3 separate regions of the Homo sapiens genome follow, and regions 2 and 3 are each linked to region 1. Evidence: promoter capture Hi-C in 16 types of primary human blood cells and fetal thymus (Javierre and others, 2016). All regions are on one chromosome and are shown on one strand. The core of a region is centred on a gene start or on the middle of the fragment in contact, and the rest is flanking DNA. Distances in the headings are between cores, read along the strand shown.

Region 1 (4,424 bases), core at 1-2,500:
GATACTATATAACACTTAAGGCACGAGTAATTTTTTTTTCACCGTTTCCCCTCCATGGCTATGAAGGAACTGGGAGAAGGATGCTCCTTTCATTAATTAAAATTCTTCACTTTGAAAATTTAAGTTTATTAGGGAAGGAAGGAAGAAAAATATGAAGATGTAAGTATACATACCTTGGAGTAAGTATTTCCTTATATTGGAGTTTCTCTAATTTAGCTGGGGCTACTAATGACATGGGAATCACAATGTTATCTATGTCATAAGAGCTCTCACTTCTCAATCTCCGTCGTGCAGTATTCTGCAAAACAGGATTACAGTAGATTTACAGTACTGTCTAGTTACTTGTAATGATACCCTCCTTTCATCAGTTATGTAAATATGGCAGTACACGTTACATAATTTTTGTAAATACATTGTTATAAAGTCTGACTAAAAAATGTTAAGAAAACCAAAAAATAAAACATTTTTCTATCTTTTGTAAATCAGAACAATCTCTTGGTAGATGTGTAATGTGTATTTATGTGTGCAAGCATACAAGCTTATTTTTAAGACCACAAAAAATAGGTCTTAAATGCAAAACTCTTTATCAGAAAAGACCAACATACATCACCCTAAATGTCAATGAAAATGATCAGTAACCACTTTTTATTAGGAAAGGCAGTGAAACATTTTTGGTCAGCCCTTCAGTATACTCTTCATTTATGCATTCCTGGTTCCTGAGTTTCGGAATTCATTTCTAAACCCTCCCACCTTTTGACCTCTCTATTCCCTGGCCAGATAACAAAAAAACAAACAAACAAACAAAAAACAGGACAAGAACAAGAAAGTCCTGAATTCTCATTAGTAAGACTTTATTTAGCTTAATATGTTAAGGAATAGAGATGATCATGATAATGTTTAAATTTTTAACACATAAAAAGAAGCTATAACCAAATATTAATGAACTTTTAGCTTCATAGTTAAAAATAAGTTGTATGAATCAAATATATTGTTTTCTAACAAGATAGTTATAAATGTCTGTTAATATGTGCTAGTAAGGCTGTTATAGATTAGCAAAATATAAATTATTTTCAAAATCAGGTGTTTTTATTTTTAAAGCTATTTTAGAGTTCAACATATGGAAAAACCTACTCGTGATGAATTCTGGATTCTTGATAAAACGTTGACATTGGAAACAGCAGTAAAATTGCTATGGGATCCTGATTCTGTGTGTTGAAAATCAGATTCTTCAAGTTTAGTTCTTTCTCCTGCCATGGAAAGAACCATTGAATGTTACACATTAAACAAGTCTAATATCATTAGAATTACTTTCCTAATTAGATGACAGGTGATTGATTCCTTGTTTTGTGTGTGTGTGTTTAAATTCGTGTATTAGAAAACAAAAAAGGAAATGAAAAAAGAGGAGCCTTACTTGCAGTCATGCCACAAGTTATTTCCATTTTCTGGGGCTTTGGCAGTTTTTATCGAATATATTTCTTATTGTTCCCTGAATAATCCCTCATCTCATCCCTTTATTCTTGTTTCCTGTGACTCCTATTCATAGTTGAACCACCAGAACTATCTTAATTTTCTTATCTAATCTCATTTTTCATATCTGACTTTTTATCCTAATTTATGTGAGGTATCTGTCCTTGGTCTTCTGAACACTCTTAATTTTTTGAAAAAATTCTGCTATTATAAGTACATGTTTCCGAAAGTACTTGTTCTCTGGTACTCTTTTTTTAAAACAGCATCCTGTTCTTGTTTCATAGATGAAATTTCTCATATCTCTCAGGATATTGATTAGAAGTTTACTTCTGTTAGTATTTTCTGTATATCTTCCAAGTTCTTTTTTTTTTTTTTTCCTGTTTTGGTTCCCAGTTACTGTGTGTGTGTGTGTGTGTAGTAAATATATATATGTATGCGTTTACTTACTGCCCTTATTTTAGTACAAGTGTTTTAAAATGAGAATATTTCCTGCATAATATAAAATCTAATACCCAGTCCATATTTAAATATCTCCATTTGTTAAAAAAAAGTCCTTTATAGCTAGTTTCTTCAGATAAGGATCTATATATAAAAATTGGCCATTGTCTCCTAGGTTTCTTATAGTCTAGAATAAATCATTTTTCATTACATTGACTTTTGACAGGCTGGACCAGATGTCCTACCCTTTTGGAATTGTCTAGTTATTTATTTGTAGTATGACATTTCTTTATTTTATTCCTGTATGTACATCAAACTTGAAGTTAGATCTAAAGTGTCAGTCAATTTAAGTGAAACATTTTATATCTTAGGTAATGTATACTTCATGTTGCATCTTATTAGATGTTTTTAAAGCTTTATATATATATATAAGTTGAATCTTGTTGACTTTCTCAAAATCCTGAGGAATCTGCAGTGCATCAACATCTCCACAGTAGGTACCATAAATGGTTAACAGTTTCTGTAAGGCAACTTTGCACTAGCCTATTTTGAGCATAGAACACAACTTTGAAGATTAAATCCCATCCAGGGACTGATTGGTAGAAGACAACTAGTCAGGGAACATAGGAGGGAAATACTTAATTGCCATAAAGTGGGTAGATACCAGTCCACAAATAATTCTAAATTAACTACGAATATGCTGTTTCATGTTTGTAGACTCATAGATGTTTTGTGTTATTAGTGGCTGTTCTGGATTATAAACTCCCATGAGAGGTTATTTTAAAATCAGAATTTTTAATTTTTAATATTTATCACTACTGCTTATATCCTCACTTTAACCTACCTAATGCTGTTTCACTCAAATGTCTTTTCTTTCTTCCCTGTAACAGTTGTGCAGAAGATTCTGACCTTATTTGAGGCTTACATATAGGTGAATATCCATTTCTCCATTGATTCAGAGTACTATGTACTAAAACAAATGAAAAGGAAATATTAAGTTTTAGTTCCTTAACACAGACAGTGAACATGTCAATCTGTTTTTATTTGTAACTGCAGAATTTTAAGATACCAGTTCAAAATTACAGATAAACATAAATACCAAGACACACAACTCCAACTAAAAACATCCCCAGGAATTTCCAGTTTCTTATATTTTCTCCATTTTTTTGAGGGGGATGAAAAGGGAAGATGATCTGTTCTCAAAGTCTTCCAAATTACAGAAACTTGATAGAGTGAGGATTGGCTCAGATATATAAATCTTGGCGATCAGAATCTTTAAGTTCTTGCTTACCTTTAAATCTGGAAATAAGTTGGGACCAAGTAAGATTCAACATGGTCAGACTAGACTGTGCGAGCAAGAACCAGAATCATTTAATATCTCTGATGCCTTAGTTGCATCATCTGTAAAATAGGGATAATAGCAGCGACCTTGGATAATGATTACATGAGTTTATTCCTGTAGTAGTAAGTAAAAGTGTCTGATGTGATAAGTGTGCAGTAAATGTTAGCGTTATCATGATTGTATATCTGAACCCCCTTATTTCCAGCCTTGGTCTAACAACCAAATTGGCTTCTTTTTTTGAAAGGTTTGGAGATGTGGAAAGGAGTGGAAAAAGAAATATGTAAGCTGAAGTGCCAAACTCACACTGAAATAAAGGGCATGGCCTACCAGCTGACAAGGAGTGTCTGGTTTCAAGATGGCAAATGACCCTAAACATGATAGACAAATACGTTTTACATAGGTACATGCACAGATAGGCACATATAAATCCACATTTGCAAGCAAAAAGTGGAACCTGTAAAGCAGAATTTCTGAGGAATCTCTAAAAGACTAATACTATATGGAATTTGAAGAGGAAACCCAGAGCAGAAGCACATAGTGAAGTACTGCCACAAAGATGTGTGACGCCACTAAAGGTGCTCTAGACCCACAAGAAAGGAAAACTGGGAGCAGGACAACTATCTGGATATTGACTGCACATGCCAATATCTCAGTCAGACTAACAGAATCAGAGCTTTAGGCAGAGAAATGAATGGTTGGAGAGAGAAGGCAATGCCCAGGTGCCCTGCTTTGAAATGTCCCGCCCATCCCCAAATTAGTCTGAAAATTTCAAATGTTGTATAAATTCCCTTCCCATCAAAAGTGTCCCATAAACAGCAGTGGTAGAAGAGTTTTAACTGAGTATCACAGCTTCAATGATGAGTATAGAAAACTCCAAAAATCTGAATACCAACACAATCAAAAAAGAGGTACAAACCACAAGTGGAAGAACCATCTCAAGAAATAATGAAGCATTCATGGAATACAGATTAGCAACTCTTTAAAACAGTATTGCCAAGAGAAACAGGTAAGAGGCCCTCTGGAGAAATGTCAGAAATAGAAAATGTAATTGTTCAAATGTTAAAATCATCACTAGGCTAAGAAACAGAATGGACACAGCTGAAAATCAAAATCAGGGTCTGGAAGAGGAATTCCATAACTTGATGGAACAGAGTGATAGAAAATATGGAGGGAAAAA
Region 2 (4,223 bases), core at 1,280-3,779, 1.6 Mb before region 1:
TTTGTTTCACTGACAGTCTGCATTGTTTTTCTGTGTCAATTTCATTGATTTATCCTCTTAACTTTATGATGTCCTTCTTTCTACTTGCTTTGGTTTTATTTTACTCTTCTTTTTGTAGGTTCTCGGGGTGGGAGATTATATTACTGATGCAAAACTTTTCTTCTTTTCTAATGGATGTATTTAGTGCTATGCATTTCTCTTAGCACTGCTTTAGGTCTGTCCCACAAATTTTGATATGTTGTTTTGTATTTTCATTCAGTTCAATGTACTTTTGATTTCCCTTGAGACTTTCTTTTTGACCCATGGATTGTTTAGAAGTGTGTTTAGTTTCTAAGTGTTTGGAGAGTTTTGTTATCTTTTTGTTATTGATTTCCAGTTTGATTCCATTGTGGTCTGAGAACATTGCAGTCTGAGAACTCTGTATGCTTGCAATTCTTTTAAAATTGTTGAGATTTGTTTTATGATTCAGGATATGGTCTACCTTGGTATTTGTTCTGTATGTATTTGGAAAGAAAGTGTATTCTCCATTGCTGGGTGAAGCGTTCAGTAAATGTCTATTAGATCCTGTTGGTTGATGGCATTGTTGAGTTCTATATCCTTGCTGATTTTCTGTCTAGTTGTTCTATCAATTGCTGAGAAAGGGGGTTGAAGTTTCCAGTTGTAGTAGTGGATTTGTTTATCTCTTCTTTCATTCTATCAGTTTTTGCTTCACATATTTTGCAGCTCTGTTTTTTTGATGCATACGCATTTTTGAGGGCCATGTTTTCTTGATGGAGTGACCCTTGTATTATGATATAATGTCCCTCTTTTAGTCTCTGGTAATTTTGTTTGCTCTACTTGGTCTGGTACTAATATAACTGGGGAAGTGGGATTATCACCTTATTACTGCTCATAGAAGTAGAAGTTTTGGTTCCTCCGTCAGCTATCACTGACACCTATGGTGGGCTGCTCCGTGGTCCTGATGTGTGGGGGTATGAGTGCTGCTCCTCATGTGGCCTCCACTGTCACCACAATGGGAGTAGCCTTGTTACTGCTAGGCTGACTCTCCACTAGGTCTTCTCTGACCCCCGCTCCAGCAGAGGAGTAGAGGGACACTGTGTTACTGTCAGGAGGGGTGGAAGTCCAGGCTTCTTATATGCAGGTTGTGAAGAAAAGGTGGGGGTGTCCAGAAGCCTTGTTTCAGGCCAGTGAGAGGGAATGTTTTAGTTCTTTACTTTGCTCTTAAACCATTCTGGGAGTTTGCAGGGGTCCCTTGTCATTTTGGGTTGGGTTTGTGAGACAGCATGTCAGGCAAGTGTTCTTGTATAAGTGGTTAGCTGTCCTTGTGTTGCTAGCTGTCCTTGTGTAAGCTGTCCATGTAGTAAACTGTGGTTTGGAAAAATTTCTTGCGATAGTTCCCATTATCCAGCAAATCATGTGTGAGAGCCCTGCCTTCATGGGTCTGCCCTGCTCCACTTGCCAAGGCTTGACATAAGTTACTCTAGTTTGGATCTTACAACTTCCACATTTCTCTGAAAGCATCACTGATCGACTCTCCTGTGGGTTGGTTTTAATTGTCCCTTGGTGCTGAGATGCACCTGTCCTGGATTGTTGGTATGGTCTCACATTGGGAAGAAGTGATTGGCGACTGGGAGTCAGTATCAAATCACTTTCAGCCACATTTGAGCAACAAGCCTGACCTGGAGAAAGTGGCTCTCAGGCTAAATCTTCCTGGGGTCCACAGTTAAGTTCAATTTTGTTGGTTCCATAAGTATTGGTTATCATTTGAAACACTGGCCCAGCATTATTCTATCAGGAGTGTTGTTTCTATAGAATTGGGGCAGGACACAGTTAGGTCCAAAGTTTAAAGGAAATAATACAAAGTAAAACCAACAGGAGCATAACGAATTTATTTTGTACAATGATTTTGAACCAAGAGGCCAAGCCTGAGGCCAAGAAACTAAGCAAATCAAAAGACCACTGGGAAACCGGGTGAGACCTGTTGTAGCCATTGAGATCAATGGACTAAATAAAAATTTCTAAAACTCTAATGAAAAAACTAATGGGTTCATGAAGCTGCAAATCAAAATCAAGCAGAACAAAATAATTACATAAGATTGAATACTTCTTAAAAATTATAATTTTTATGACCTTAAGGAGGTCATAATCATTGTGAAGGCAATGATTTATGACTTGCAAATCACATGTAATGAGATGGAGTAAAAAGCTGAACCCTTGAGATATTGAGGTAGGAGGTGGGGCTCAGAGACTGGACCAAATTGAGGACTAGCTAAAAGAGGGACATGGTGGAAGCAGCTTTCCATAAGACACATCCTCCAGTGTTCCATGCCAGTTTACCATTGCCATGGCAACACTGAAAGTTACCACCCCTTTCCACAGCAATGACCCAATGACCCAGAAGTTACCACCCTTTTAAAAGAAATTGCTATATAATCTACCTCTTAATTTGCATATAAGTGGGTATAAATATGACTGCAGAACTGCCTTTGAGCTGCTACTCTGGGCAGACTGCCTGGCCCTGCTCTGCAAGGAATAGTACCTCTGCTGCTGCTGTATACTGTCACTTCTATAAAAGTTGCTGTCAAACACCACCAGCTTGTCTTTGAATTCTTCCCTGGGCAGAGCCAGAAACCCTCCCAGGCTAAGCCCCAGTTGTGGGCTGCAGCTTGTTCTGTGGTGTTTTTCCAGGCTGTCTTTTTTCTTCCTTGGCTAGAGAGCAGGCTTCTCTTGAGACTTTTAAATTTTTCTGCCTGTGCCTATTGATATTCCAGAGTTTCCAGCTTCTTTTACTCCAAGTTGGGGATGTATGAGGGAGAAAGAAAACCCAGGGAATTTACCACCATGTTGTCTTCCAGGATCTGTAGCCTGCTCTGCTATCTTCTCTCTGCCTTTTAGAATATTGTTATATTCATTTTATATGTAATGTGTAGGGCTTTTGTTTATATTTACTGAGAGGAATTGGGGAAAGCACATCAACTCCATCATGCTGGAAGTTCCAGAATACCTCTTAAATTAAGCTAACTTATGGATTTATGGTTACTTAAAAATTGAATAAATGTGAATATTGGGTTAATTATGAAGATTTTCATGTCTTGACATTAAAATTGGTATCTATATTTATAACTTTAGGGGCTTTTAATAAAGTACAAATTACCAAAGTAGGGCTTCTCTTAGCTATCAAATATGTGACAGATTGGAATTTAACATTTTATTTCAAATCATAAATGATCACTTGTCCAGGAAAAATTACTAACATCTATTTTTCTAAATGTAACATTTTGTTTTGGGTGCAATTGTTGCTTTTGGAGAACTAGACATTGAAAATGTAAACTGCTCTTCTGTTTGAAGTACACTATCATTTTAATGTCATTCTATGTTAAACAGTGCTTGTATCTACAACAAAGGAATAAAAAGAAAGCAATATAAAAAACAAGTACTTATTTGCTTTTACTGGAAATGACTGATTTGGTTTGGCTGTGTCCCCACCCAAAATCTCATCCTGAATTGTAATCCCCATAATCCCCACATGTCAAGGGTGGAAGCAGGGGAGGTAATGAGATCATGGGGGCGGTTTCCCCCATGCTGTTCTGATAGTGAGTTAGTCTCATGAGATCTTGTGGTTTTGTAAATGTCTGGCATTTCATCTGCTTGCACTCGCTTCGTCCTGCTGCCCAGTGAAGAAGGTGCCTCCTTCTCCTTTGCCCTCTGCCATGATTGTAAGTTTCTTGAGTCTTCCCCAGCAATGTGGAACTGTGAGTCAATCAAGTCTCTTTCCTTACCCAGTCTTGGGTATTTCTTCATAGCAGTGTGAGAATGGACTAATACAATGACTAAAGATCAATTTAACAGATTGTGATTTAGCACATTCTGATCATACTTGCTCCCGGCTAAACTGACCAGATGTTTTAGAACAAAATATCTTTAGAAGCTGTAGTTTATAAGATGCATGGTTTCCTGAAAAGGTTATCCCTATAAAAAGGCTGCGTGTACACAGGAAGAAATAAAAAAGAATATTTTCGAGTAAAAATGGCACAAGGGGTGATTTGAAATATTCACGTTTGATAATTGAAGTCAAATTTCTCTGAATCAAATGTATAGTTCTGAAATTTGGTCACAATTTATACAATGTTTTCTAGGATTGAAGTAAAAGGAAGTAACGGTTTAACTGAAAAAAACAGCCAGGAAAAAACCAAAACAAAACAAAACAAAAAACTTCAGGTGTG
Region 3 (4,021 bases), core at 1,071-3,570, 1.6 Mb before region 1:
ATCTGAGATCTCCCAAGTGTGGTCCTTTCCCGCTACTTTTAAAGCAGAGGGAGACATTTGCTATTACTTGGTCAATTTTTCCCAGCCTGAGGGTGTGAAGCTTATGTTTGGAGAGAGTGTTCTTTGCCACTGGGGGTGGAATGTTCTCCTGAGAGGAGTTAGTCACCCAGTTGAAAGTGCTCCCATACCATGTCCCATTTATGCCTGATATGTCTTGAAAGGTTAAAGGTAAAGCCAATAAAGGGAACCCCAAGACGATGAGTTCCGGGTCACTGTAAGATTCCTCAGTGTCGTTGAATTGAGTGAACTACTTAGGACAGACCCAACAATTAGTCTTGTACAAATGGGCCATGGTGGATATTGTAGGAGCTAAAGGGTGTGATGTATTACTAAGTCCGATAAAAAGTCCTAATAGACTTAGTGATAGTAAAACACTCATGTTTATTTTCTGTTAGTAACCATTATTCCTGCTATCAGGATAATAATTAAGCAAAATGCTACAGTAATTGAGATTCTCTGTCTGATTTTCCACCCTGAGGGTGCTACAGTATATAGTTCTATTGCAAATAGTAGAGTGAGTATAACAATTTCTGCAAGGGTGGCATAGTAAATAATTTCCATCAAAAAGAAGTTTTAATATTTGGCTCAAAGGGAGAGGTAGAAATGACAAAAAGTATTTGATGAGGTAGGGGTGAGACTGAGTACGATGAGTAGTTCTTACTCAGTTACTTATCTTTTGTGATTTTCAGCTTAAGATCTATTTTTTCACAGATATTCAGGTCATTCCTTTGGGCTTTGGTCCCTTAGCTCTCCAAGGCTTTGACTCGAGTGTGATGTATCCAGAATTTGATTCCTATGACTTTTATTCCTGAGGGAGTTGAAAGAAGAACGGTGTAAGGCCCTTCCCAGCTTGGGCTTAGGGAGGGAGGCAGGGAAAGCAGAGCCTTCACCTGTACCAAATCTCCTGGGTTAAATAGAGTGGTCCAATTTCCTGGGGTTGGGCTTTCATGAATTGTGCTAATTGGAAGTGAGCCAGAGAAGTTACATGCTTAACTAGCTTAGACGTTTCTCGATTTAATAGAAAATCATTGGTAAGGAAAGGCCATCCATACAGCATCTTAAAAGGGCTAAGACCTAATTTTGAAGGTGTATTTTTTATTTCTAGTAAGGCCATAGGAAGAAAAGTGACCCAAGGAAGGTGAGTTTCTTGGGATAATTTTCTGAGGTGTCTCTTGATAGATAACCCACTGGCTGTTGAGCTGGTCCTTGGGCCTGTGTTAAAACTTCCAGGGCCATCCCCTTTCTTTCTGATACATACAGATTGAAGGACTCCCCTACAGGAAGGCTGAGAGCTGCTGCTTTGAGCAAAGCTTGCTTTAGCTTGTCAAAGGCCTTTTGAACTTCAGGTTTCCAGGTTAAAAGATGAGTTTTAGCTCCCTGAGTTTTTTTATGACGTTATGTAATGGATGGGCTATTTCACCATATCCAGGTATCCACAGTTTACAAAATCCTGTAATGCCCCCAAATACTCTTAGTTGCTTGAGAGTTTTGGGGAGGGAGAAGGTGGAGATAGGCTTAATCCGCTCTTTCCCTAATGCTCTGGTCCCCTCAGACAACACTAAGCCTAGGTACTTCACTAAGGTTCTGCAGAGCTGGGCCTTGGGTTTTGAAACCTTATATCCTCTGCTAGATAAGAAGTTGAGAAGAGCTTCAGTACCTTCCTGAGAAGCTTCCTCAGTTGGGGCACAGAGCAGTATATAATCCACATACTGCAAGACCCTAACTTGAGTATGAGAGAACTCAGAGAGGTCTGGTGACAGTGCCTGTCCAAACAGACGAAGACTATCTCAAAATCCCTAAGGGAAAACCATCCATGTTAACTGGGTGGTCTGGCCGGAGGGATCTTCAAATGCAAACAGGTATTGAGAGTCGGGATGTAACAGTATGCAGAAAAAGACATCTTTCAAATCTAGGACTGCAAACCATTTAGTTCCCTCAGGTATTTGAGTTAACAGGATATAGGGATTAGGGACCACTGGATGGATTGGAACTACAGCTTTATTAATGAGGTGAAGGTCCTGAACTATTCTTCATTCCCCATTGGGTTTCTGCACTCCTAATATTGGGGTGTTGCAGGGGCTATTACAGGGTTTGAGGAGGCCTCTAATCTTTAGGTTATTAATAATGGCTTCTAGCCCTTTCCTAGCCTCTGGCCTTAAGGGATACTCTCTCTGGTTAGGAAAAGAAGTGGGATCCTTAAGATAGATTTGGATGGGCCTAGCAGTTATAGCTCAACCTATTCTTCCTTGAGTTGCTCACACTTCTGGATTAATGTTAACTTCCATCAGGGGGAGACAAAGAGTTTGTCCTGGGGCTATAAGGATACTGGCTCCCATGCGAGCTAGAATATCTCTACCTAATAAAGGAGTGGGACTTTTAGGCCTGATTAGAAAGGCATATGTAAATAGTAAGCCCCCAACCTGCAGCTACGGGTTAAAGGTAAATATCAGGTTAGAGTTTTTCCTGAGACGCCTCTTACAGTCATACTAAAGGAAGAGGGAAGGCCTGGATTACAGAGGAGAAGAGAGACTGGCTCCAGTACCCAGAAGATCTACCTTCCTTCCTTCAATTTTCAGAATCACCCGGGGCTCTTGTGCTGTAATGGCAGACTGAGCCGCTGGAATGGGGGTTTGAGCCCCGGGACCTGTCAATCCTGCTGGACCATCTCTGAGACTGGTTCTGAACCCAGTGACCTCTGCCTCCAGGGAAAGACCTGTCTTCAGCAGTTTCCACCACAGGCTGGACAGGGTCAAGGAAGGTTCGTATTGCTGTCTGGGCATTCCTTCTTAAAATGCCCTGGCTGGCCACATTGATAACACCTAGTGGATGCACCTTGGGGATTCTGGACTTTACAAGCTTGCAACGCTGCTACTAGAGCCTCTGTTCTCTTGTATTTCCTCTCCTTTTCTCAGGCCTCCTCCTGATCCCTATTGTAAAAGACTAAAGTGGCTATTCTCAGGAGGTTTTCTAGGGTGCTCTCTGGTCCTACAACTTGCTTCTGTAGCTTCCTTCTAATGTGGGGAGATGCCTGTGTGATAAACTTGTCCTTCAGGATGAGCTGTCCCTCAACTGAATCAGGGGATAAAGAGGTGTGTTTTATTAGTGCCTTTTTCAGCCTTTCCATAAAGGCTGTGGAATTCTCATCTCATCTTTGGTCTAGCATGGACAGTTTAGAGTAATTGAAAGGGTTGGCCCTGGTCTTCCATAGGCCTTCTATATTAGAAAAAGGGCTTCCTTTTCCATTCATCTCCTGAGTTATTGGGATTCCAATCAGGGTTGTCTACTGGAACTGCTTCCCTTCCTAGTGGAATGGAGTTTCCACCTCTTCCTCACCTTCCCTCTCTCCTCTTTTTCTCCTGGGTCTGCTATAGGAGACATGTTGCTCATCTCCGTATTTTTCTGCTGCCTGCAGAACTGTCTGCTTTTCAGCTGCAGTGAGGGTCTGACTTAGCAGCAACATAACATCCCTCCGTGTGAGATCAAACACCTGAGTTAAATTTTGGAAAATTTCTATATACCTACAGGGGTCATCAGAAAATTGGCCTAAGTCTCCCTTTATTTGCTTAAGATCCTGTAATGAGAAGGGAACTTGAACCCTTATGGCACCACTCCCATCAGGCATTTCCTGCAGAGGTAAGAGTGAAGGGGGGAGAGTAGGATATACTGGAGCTGGTAGAGCTGGAGGAGTGGATGGTATGATTGGAAGGGGACTGGAAGGGTTGGGACATTCAATAGCTGTCTCGGATTACTCCTCTGGAACCTGCTTTAGCTCTGGGGAACTATTCCCTGTGGGCTTGCCTGTTGTGGCTGCTAAAAGAACTGGGTTGATTGTACAGAACTTGTAAAGGTCTGAGTTGTCTTGAGGGGCAAAGAAAGCCTGTACATAGGCAGCCTCAGTCCATTTGCCCTTCTGTTTGCAGAAAAGTTTTAACTTTTGGATAATACTAAAATCAAGGCTCCC

The links. The method cuts DNA at HindIII sites, captures the fragments that hold promoters and counts their contacts. A CHiCAGO score of 5 or more calls a contact.
Region 2: a fragment that was not itself captured here is called in contact with the fragment with the promoter of KANSL1L-AS1 in region 1 in 1 of 17 cell types (neutrophils); the score reaches 6.7 in neutrophils.
Region 3: a contact is called between a fragment that was not itself captured here and the fragment with the promoter of KANSL1L-AS1 in region 1, in 4 of 17 cell types (M0 macrophages, neutrophils, M1 macrophages and 1 more). The highest score is 9.9, in M0 macrophages.

Annotation. Positions count from the first base shown.
Region 1 is chr2:210,028,672-210,033,095 of GRCh38, forward strand. It overlaps KANSL1L-AS1 (KANSL1L antisense RNA 1), which reads left to right and starts at 1,251. Exons shown (of 5, transcript NR_110291.1): 1 at 1,251-1,327; 2 at 2,796-2,836; 3 at 3,492-4,253. KANSL1L (KAT8 regulatory NSL complex subunit 1 like) reads right to left here. Exons shown (of 15, transcript NM_152519.4): 9 at 2,750-2,875; 10 at 1,132-1,247; 11 at 174-298. The HindIII fragment of the contact is 1,781 bases long and covers 537-2,317 here.
Region 2 is chr2:208,423,043-208,427,265 of GRCh38, forward strand. The region is part of intron 1 of PTH2R (parathyroid hormone 2 receptor); the gene reads left to right. Among named protein-coding and RNA genes, the nearest start is that of PTH2R, 18 kb to the left of the region's middle. The HindIII fragment of the contact is 5,136 bases long and covers 1-4,223 here.
Region 3 is chr2:208,390,164-208,394,184 of GRCh38, forward strand. It overlaps a transcript of PTH2R not described here. Among named protein-coding and RNA genes, the nearest start is that of PTH2R, 15 kb to the right of the region's middle. The HindIII fragment of the contact is 1,187 bases long and covers 1,728-2,914 here.